2 separate regions of the Homo sapiens genome follow, and region 2 is linked to region 1. The links are contacts of gene promoters, found by promoter capture Hi-C in blood cells and fetal thymus (Javierre and others, 2016). All regions are on one chromosome and are shown on one strand. Each heading gives the region's core, a stretch centred on a gene start or on the middle of the fragment in contact. The rest is flanking DNA. Distances are from core to core; before and after follow the strand shown. Region 1 holds the start of NDEL1 (nudE neurodevelopment protein 1 like 1). Region 2 overlaps CCDC42 (coiled-coil domain containing 42).

Region 1 (4,638 bases), core at 979-3,478:
AGAACAAATTTATTTTGGTGCAAACATTTATTTTATTTTTTTAGAGACAGGTGTCTCACTGTGCTGCCCAGGCTGGTCTCGAACTTCTGGGCTCAAGTGATCTGTCTACCTCAGCTTCCCAGAGTGCTGGGATTACAGGTATGGGCCACCATGCTTGGCCCTGTGCAAAAAAAAAATTGGAAATCCATGCATAGTTTTTTCATAATATGCATATTATTCATAATATTATTCATAATAGGCATATGTAATATGTTACCTTTCCCACAAACCCCATTAATCCCTTCTCTGATCTTTATTGATTTGGGTACCTCTTACAATCCATCTTGCATTGTTCCTGTTTATGTCCATCGCCCTCAAAAATATAAACTGGGCCTCCTAGGCTCACTTTGTTTTCACCTTGAGGCATGTCTTACACATTATTTTTGTGTTCACACCCACAAATCCAATCCTAAAAGCACTGAAATTGGAAAGGATTACATTGCGTGCCGCATGGAGGCTGGTGCCTGTAATCCCAGGACTTTGTGGGGGGCTGAGGTGGGAAGATTGCCTGAAGTCAGGAGTTCTTTTTTGTTTTGTTTTGTTTGTTTTTAGACGGAGTCTCACTCTGTCGCCCAGGTTAGAGTGCAGTGGTGCTCACTGCAACCTCCGCCTCCCGGGTTCGAGCGATTCTCCTGCCTCAGCCTCCGGAGTAGCTAGGATTACAGGTGCCCACCATCATGCCTGGCTAATTTTTGTACTTTTAGTAGAGACAGGGTTTCACCATGTTGGCCAGGCTGGTCTCGAAGTCCTGGCCTCAGGTGATTTGCCCGCCTCGGCTTCCCAAAGTGCTGCAGCGCCTGGCCGAAGTCAGGAGTTCTTGACCAGCCTGGGCAACACAGTAGACCCCATCTCCTAAAGGAAAGGATTACCTTGTACATTATACAGCAAAAGTTCTTAAAATTGTTTTTAAAATGTATCTCTTCCTTTAAGTTTCCACTCCCTATGTAAGTTGCCTATCCCTCTTTCCCTCCTTTTTGGGCTAGTATCGTCTCCAGCTTGCTTCCAAGTCCGCTAGGGAATACACACGCGCGCACACACACATACACGTGTGTGTTTACGTACTAAAAATATATAAACATTAATAATGCAAGATGGGGCCGGGCGCTGTGTCTCACGCCTGTAATCCCAGCACTTTGGGAGGCCGAGGCGGGCGGATCACGAGGTCAGGAGTTCGAGACCAGCCTGGCCAACATGGTGAAACCCCGTCTCTACTAAAAATACAAAAATTAGTCGGGCGTGGTGGCAGGCGCCTGTAATCCCAGCTACTAGGGAGGCTGAGGCAGGAGAATTGCTTAAACCTGGGAGGCGGAGGTTGCAGTGAGCCGAGATCGCGCCACTGCACTCCAGCCTGGGCAACAAGAGCGAAACTCCGTCTCAAAAACAAACAAACAAACAAACAAACAAAAACCAAGATGGATTGTAAGAGGTATATATATACACATAGGACTCCATTTCTTGGGGGACCTGGAGGGGAGAAAGTCACACCCATACACACACGTACACGCATGTATACAAAAATGAATATATGCTCAGATATATACAATATATAAATGGGCAAATATAAAATCCCCTTTGTGCCAACGAATCCATTCATTCATTCATCAAATATTTGAGCGTCCACTTTGCCTAGAACCAAGTTATCTGTTGGGATGAGCAAGGCATAAGAGGTTCTAGCTCTCATAGAACTTAGAATTCTACTGGAGGAAGATGAGAACAAATACAAAATGTAAACAGTGGAAGTTCTGTAAAAACAACACAGAGCTTTGTGAGAGTGATGCTTAGAATGCTCCTGATGTTCCATTGGGTGTTCGAGCAGGGGGAATGGACTCGGAGGTGAACTATGAGCCGAGATTCATTTTATAAACGGGAACACAGACACATGGACACTTGAAGGGCCTTGGTGGCCAGAAAACTGAAGGCAGGTTCCCATCCGTCTTGGCACCACTCTCCCGAATAGCAGTTTCAGGGAACTGCACAAGCCAAAACCAGCCGGTCGCAGAGTCCAGGAGCGCCTGCGCAAGAGGACGCCTGCGCAAGAGGACGCCGTCAGCTTGGCGTCAGCGCGCCGGGCTCTGGCCCGCCCCCTGTGACACCAGCCCCGCCCCACCCCGCCCCGCATACCCGTGCGCTGCCGCGCATGCTCCGAGCCCCGCCCCCGTGCGTCACAGAATGGCCTCGGACACCCAGGCAGTCCCTGACGTGTCGGGGAGGAGCCGGGCGCGGAGGTACGCTGAGTGGAGCTCGGGGCTGCGTAGGGGAGCTGAGCCGAGCGGCTGGGCGGGCCTGGCCGGGCCGGCGGAGGGGAGACGTCGGTTGAGCGGCGGCGAACATGCGCTTTTGACACATTGGAGGTGAGCCTGCAGCGCGGGGCCGCTCCCTAAGGGGCTGCGCTGGGCCGGCGGCGCCGAGGCCTGCCCTTGGGGAGCCTTCCCGGCCCGGGGCCGTGTCTGAGGCTCCGCCGGGGCGGGCCGGGCCGGGTTCCGGGGCGGCCAGCCTGGGGGCAACTGTTCCAACCGCTCTAACTGTCCCCTCCCTTCCCTGGTCCGATGTGTGGCCCCCCAGGGGCGCCTGCAAGGGAACGATTCCGGTGGCCTCCGGAAGATGTGCCCCGTTCCGGGTAGGGTGAGGGCTGGCGGTGACGGAGGCCGGGACGTGGCACCGTGGGCTGGGGCGCTGGCGGCGCAAGGAGTGGCCCAGTCGGAGGTGGCAGCGGCGCGCCCAGCCCGCCTCCTCCTACCCCCTCTTCGAAATTCCTTCATTTGCGAGGGTGGCTTGGAGCGGGGTTGCATTTTGATCTCTCAGTGCCTCTCTCCCATGGGGGGCGAGAGCGCGAGCAGCCCACGTTGGGCTCGGATTGGCATTCTCCTGACTCCCGCCCGGAACTGCTAATCATCCTCCCCCTGGAGTTCGGCAAAGTGTCACCAACGGGCTCGGGTTACTTGTGCTCGACTCTTTTCTTGCTGTAAGCCATGAGATGACCCTTTAAGTTTTGCAAAGGAGGTGAGAGTTCTGTCACCACTGATTATTACCTTCTATTTACGTAGCACCTTTACACGTTTCAGAGCACTCTTCTTCCTATCTTTTTCTAACCGCATCACCTTGTGGTTGCAACTGATTATGTTATCGCCATTTCGATGGGTAAATGGAGCTGGGATGGGGGTAATTATTTATACTTAGGTTCAACCAACTGGTGAGTGGTTTAGCTTGGATCATAATTTACATTTCTAGGCTCGGAGTTCTGGTTTCTTTTCGTGGGATTTTTATACCCTTCTCAGCTACAAAACAAGGCAGAAAATGTGACTTGCCAAAGATATGCCAGAAGCTGGTAGATTACTTACTCAATTATTTTTGAGAAAACTCACCTAGGATAAAAACGGCTGCTCAGTCATGAGAAAAATCTTCCTGTGAAGCTTGTTCAGGAGTTGCTGGTTAATTGCTTTGCTAAATCGTGAAGTTGATGGGCACAGTGCAGCGTTAAGTCATGGGCTGAAGAGAAGTAAAGGGAAACCAAGTGAAGTATTTCTTCTGAATTATTATTAAAATTATTGTTATTTAAAATTAGAGTGCGTGAGAAACAAAACCTTTGGCCAGCCCTGGTTAGAGGTTGACTTGATCCAGATAGAAGTTGCTAAATCTTCTGAAGCTGTAGTTCTTTTGATTTTTTTAAATTAAATAAATTGAAGTTGGATAAAGAGCTTAAAATAAGTAGGAACCTTAGTAAAACTTAGATCTTGCTTTCATGACATCTGCAAAACAACTTATTTTTGTTTTCATTTTAAACCATGCTGGGATAAATTTGGTTACTAAAGCTTAAAATTACTTCTGACGTAAGTTTCTGAGCACTCCATAAAGTAAAAAAGAAGTCTGATAGAATCAAAGAGAGACCGTGTTTATGATCAACTTTGAAGAGTTAAAAATTCTGTAAATGTCACCTTTGAGAGTAGTAGAATTTCAGTAAAAAGGCATATATTGCCAACAGTGAGTTCTGAAAGAACTCTTCTAACGTCAGTCCATTTTAGAACTGTTAACCAGAAACAATATCATTGAAAATAGATTTTCTTACCATTGTACAAAGAATAATTTCCTTGTAAATAAAAGGCATTTTGGACAGGCTGTTTTAAACTCAAATGAGTTGATTGTTGCTAGATTTCTGAAGGTCATACACAGTATGATAATGCTTTACGTAAAAATTGTCATGCTTTTGAGACTGTGTCCGTATTGAGATCTGGTATTAAAGAAAGATGGGGTGGGGGCGGGCAGAGAATAATAATTTTTTTTTTCTTTGATGGAGTCTCCCTCTGTTGCCCAGGCTGGAGTGCAGTGGCACAATCTCGGCTCACTGCAACCTCCACCTCCTGGATTCAAGCGATTCTCCTGCCTCAGCCTCCTGAGTAGCTGGGATTACAGGTGCGCACCACGATGCCCTGCTAATTTTTGTATATTTAGTAGAGACAGGGTTTCACCATGTTGGTCAGGCTGGTCTCGAACTCCTCACCTCGTGATCCGCCTGCCTCAGCCTCACAAAGTGCTGGGATTACAGGCGTGAGCCACCGTGCCCTGCCAATAATACATAATTATCTATCTTCATTCTAGCTTCAG
Region 2 (4,638 bases), core at 1,276-3,775, 300 kb after region 1:
CACAGCATGTGGTGTGTGTGTGTTTGTGTGTATGTGTGTGTGTGTATGCTCAGGGCCCGCACTCACCCAGTGCCTGGGAGCCCCCGGCCCGCCCCGGGCCCCTCACCCAGAAGATGACATTGCTGCGGGCACGGTCAAAGCGCATCTGCAGCCTTGCCAGCTCATTGTTTTGCTGCAGGATCTCATCATCCTTTTCCTCCATGTAGCGCGCCAGCCGGGCCTTGGCGCGCTCAATCTTCTCCTGGCCTTCCTGCGCAGACTGCATGAGGTCGTGGCGCATGCTCACCAGCGTCTTGTAGCGTGCAATCACCTCATGGATCTCCTCGAACTGTGGTCAGGGGCTCAGGTCAATGCACAGCCAGCCCCTGGGGCCTGAGGGAGCCACCCAGTCCTGCCAACCTCCAGCCTGGATGCCTGGACACCTGGACACCTGGGCAGGCAGGCCCTTGGCCAGGGTCACGGCCAGAGGCTGTGAGGGACACTGGGGTTCCGCTGCCTGCTTCTCCTGGGTTTGTACGGGCCACGGTCCATTTGTTGGGCAGGGGGATGCACAACTGGGCTAGGGATTTTCGACTTTAACTGCATGTGAGAATCACCTGTAGGGGCTTTAAAAAGGACACCTGCCAGTCTCCACCCCCAGAGATTCAGATGAATAAACAAGTCTTCTGTGGTCTCTGGCATCTGAATTTTGCAAAAGGTCCCCTGGTGGCTCTAGGCACAGCCAGGGTTGATAATCGCTGATGGAAGGCATTTTGCAATGTCTTCCAAGGCAAGAATTTCCTATTCAACAAGATTGTACCAGGAACCACTTACAAGCCAGGAGCTATGCTAAATGCTAGGGAAATAGCAGGAGTTAGGAAAACCAGATTCTGCTCTTAGGAAGCTTACAGCTTGGGGGGTGGCATGGAGGGAGGACAGACAGACAAGTAAACAGTCAGTTACAACAGCAAGATAAGCCCTATCTATGACTGGGGGATAGGGCTGGAGGGGACTCTGGGAAAGCCTTCACGTTGGTGATCTCTGGTATTTGTTCATTTACTGAGGGAGAAGCAGGGATAGAGAGGGTGCTGGTGGGGCAGGTGGCCTGCCAGACTCAGCTCACCTCCCCCAGCCTGGTCCAGAACCATGCCACTCTGGCCCTAACCCTCAGGTCCCACTCAGTGGAACAGAAGCCATGAAACCCACGCTCTTTAGAAGGCAGCATGAACACCAGTTCTGTGATACCAAGTTGCCTTCCTAGGGGCTTATCAAAGCATGCCTTTCAGCCGCCCAGGGGAAACTTCCCGAGCACCTTCTCCATCTCGTGACATCTCCAGTGATGGATGCGTGTCCTGGGAACTGCCCTGCTGGCCTTTCCCCAAATATGCCTCTTTGGGGAAGGGCCACCCAACCCAGCACGGAAAGAGGTAGGAACAGCCAGAAAAGGTTTCATGGGAGAAAGTGTGGCTGAAATGAGATGAGAGGTATATAAATAGAAGATAGCTAGCAAAAGCAGGTGTAGGGAGGTGAGGCAGTGCTACAGGTGAAGGAGACAGCCTGGGCAAAGATGAATGGAATAGGGGGTTGTATGTTCAGGATGCTGAAGGTAGCCTGAGTTCAAGATGGGGAGGGAGAGACTGAGAAGAAGAAGAAAGGAAGAAGAAAGCAGAAGAAGAAAGAAAGAGGGAAGGAGGAAGGAAGAAGAAGAAGAAGAAAGAGAGAGAGGGAGGGAGGGAGAAAGGAAGGAAAAGAAAAAAAGAAAAGAAGAGGGAGGGAGGAAGGAAGGGAAAGAAAAAAGAAAAGAAAAAGGAAAGAAAGAAAAAGAAAAAAAGAAAAGCAAGCAAGCAAGCGAGCTCAGTAAACCTTGGGAAGGAGTGTGGACTTTATCCATTGAAGGATTTTAAGAAACAGACAATTCACGTGTGCATTTCTGAAAGTTCATCTGGCACACAGTGCAACAGTGTACCACAGTTCAAATAAATGGACCACATCAGAGCTACTAGGAACACACCTCTAAACTTAATGCTGATGTCAAAAGGATTTAGGTGCCAAATCGAAGAGCCACCCACTGCCCAAAGATGAGATGATTTGAACATTAGTAAGAATAAGTGCAAAGGATTAAAACATATCAAATATGTTAAAAATCCATCAGTTCACAATGATACTAGAAACATTACAGGTCAGTGCTAGAGAACAAATTCATTATTCTGAAAACTAAATAAAGCATTTAACAAACTTTCTCTGCGAGACCCACATAGTAATCAAATGGTGGATGAAGGAAAGGATCTCTTTATGAAGTCCTTTTCTTTATGGTAGTATTCTAGCAAATAAATGAGGAAGGGTTGCTAGTGAGTGTCTTCCCCCGACCAGTGAGGAAACCAATATTCTGACTTCTATCAATAAAGATTAATTTTACCTGTTTTTAAACACATCAATGGAATCATACGATATAACCTCTTTTGTGTCTGGCTTAAGAAGCATACCAACTAAGGGCAGTGTGAGGACCTTATATGGACTCTCATTGGAACAAACCAACTGTACAAAAAGCATCCGTGCAATAATTTGTCTTAAAAGACAGGGTCTCACTCTATTGTTCAGGCTGGACTACAGTGGCATAAACACAGCTCACTGCAGCCCTGACCTCCTGGGCTCACGCAGTCCTCCTGCCTCAGCCTCCCAAGTAGATGGGACCACATGTGTGTGCCACCATTCCTGACTGATTTTTATTTTTTAATTTTTTGCAGATTTGGGGGGGGTCTCACTTTGTTGCCCAGGCTGGTCTTGAACTCCTGGGCTCAAGTGATCCTCCCACCTCAGCCTCCCAAAGCACTGAGATTACAGGCATGAGCCACCACGCTTGACCCATTTTGTGCAATAAATGATACTGATATTTGATGTTAAGGAATTACTATCAATTGTATAGTAGGTGTGACAATGGTGTAGTTATTTTAAAAAGAGCTCTCATCTCTTAGAGATACATACTGCAGAGAGACGCAAATGGATGAAAATATATTGTTTGCTTCAAAATGGCAGAGGTGGGAAAGTGTGGGGGATGTGACTATGAATTAATCATTATTAGAATCAGGTAATGAGCAACAGGTGTTCAATAGACTATTGTCTTTACTTTTGTGTATGCTTAAAAAATTCCGTATAAAAAGTTACAAAACATTAAATGTGACAAAATAATAAGCATGATTTGAGATTTTTTTTTTTTTTTTTTTGAGACGGAGTCTAGCTCTGTCACCCAGGCTGGAGTGCAATGGCATGATCTTGGCTCACTGCAACCTCTGCCTCCCGGGTTCAAGCAATTCTCCTGCCTCAGCCTCCGGAGTAGCTGAGATTACAGGCACCCGCCATCACGCCCAGCTAATTTTTGTATTTTTAGTAGAGACAGGGTTTCACCGTGTTGGCCAGGGTGGTCTCGAACTCCTGACCTCGTGATCTGCCCACCTCGGCCTCCCCAAAGTGCTGGGATTACAAGCGTGAGCCACCGCACCTGGCTATTTGAGAATTTTTGAAAGCAGAATACTCAAATAAAAAGTTACAAAACGTTAAATGTTACAAAATGTTACAAAATAATAAAAAGCATGACTTGAGAATTTTTAAAAGCAGGATACTCGTGATGTCTGAGGACAGGTGAAGAAACATAAGATTTGGAAGGACACAAAGGAGTTCATTTACTGGATTTCAATTATCGGTAGTGTTTGATTTAAGACAAAAGAACTGGGGGCAGATGGGGAAAATACGAAGATTTAGCAAAGCTGTGTGATGAGTACTTGGTTGCTGTTATGTGTGTCTCTATACTTTCCAGTATTCTTAAAGTATTTTGAACAAAATAAAGAAGAAAAAAGAGAAAGAGAGGGGGGCTGGGGGAATGCTGAACAGGCTGGCCAGGAACGACGCCAGAGTTGAACTCCAGACGAGGTACCACTGGTGGCCTGGATGAGGAAGGGGCAGGGGCTGGATTCCAGAAATACTTCCAAGGCAGAACAGACCAGATCTGCTGATTGATAGCTGTGGCACTGAGCAGGAGGGAGGAGCCAAGGAGGCCTGAGTTCTGGCGGGGCTGTGAGTGGGTGGTCCTGCCTTTCACCAGCACAGGTCGTCGCGCCAGCGGCAGGGCTGTCCTGGGGGTGGCAGGAAGCAGATGAGATGAGTGTGCATGGGATGAATTAAATATGGGGGTCTCAAGCTTAGGAGGGAGAGACAGGCCAATTTCCTCCATTCTAAGATATATATTTTCCCAACTCTGAATTCAAGACACATCTTACAATTTTTTTTTGGTTTGTTTGTTTTTGAGACGGAGTTTCGCTCTTGTCGCCCAGGCTGGAGTGCAATGGTGCAACCTCGGCTCACTGCAACCTCCGCCTCCTGGGTTCAAGCAATTCTCCTGCCTCAGCCTTCCGAGTAGCTGGGATTACAGGTGCTTGCCATCACGGCCAGCTAGTTTTTGTATTTTTAGTAGAGACGGGGTTTCACCATGTTGGCCACACTGGTGTTGAACTCCTGACCTCAGGTGATCCACCTACCTCGGCCTCCCAAAGTGCTGGGATTACAGGCGTGAGCCACCGTACCTGGCCACATCTTGTAATTCATCTGCAGTTTTAATCTGGTAGTCCCTCCTTACTTCCTGCCCCCCCAACAAACCCCAACTATGAA

The links. Contacts are between HindIII fragments. The CHiCAGO score rates a contact against its expected background, and 5 or more counts as called.
Region 2: a contact is called between a fragment that was not itself captured here and the fragment with the promoter of NDEL1 in region 1, in 12 of 17 cell types (total CD8 T cells, naive B cells, non-activated CD4 T cells and 9 more). The highest score is 11.1, in total CD8 T cells.

What each region holds. Positions count from the first base shown.
Region 1 is chr17:8,433,656-8,438,293 of GRCh38, forward strand. NDEL1 (nudE neurodevelopment protein 1 like 1) reads left to right here and starts at 2,229. Exons shown (of 9, transcript NM_030808.5): 1 at 2,229-2,390. RefSeq lists silencers at 2,033-2,202, 2,303-2,502, 2,543-2,782. The HindIII fragment of the contact is 3,991 bases long and covers 1-3,447 here.
Region 2 is chr17:8,735,284-8,739,921 of GRCh38, forward strand. It overlaps CCDC42 (coiled-coil domain containing 42), which reads right to left. Exons shown (of 7, transcript NM_144681.3): 5 at 107-328. Among named protein-coding and RNA genes, the nearest start is that of CCDC42, 7.2 kb to the right of the region's middle. RefSeq lists an enhancer at 3,549-4,049. The HindIII fragment of the contact is 3,288 bases long and covers 882-4,169 here.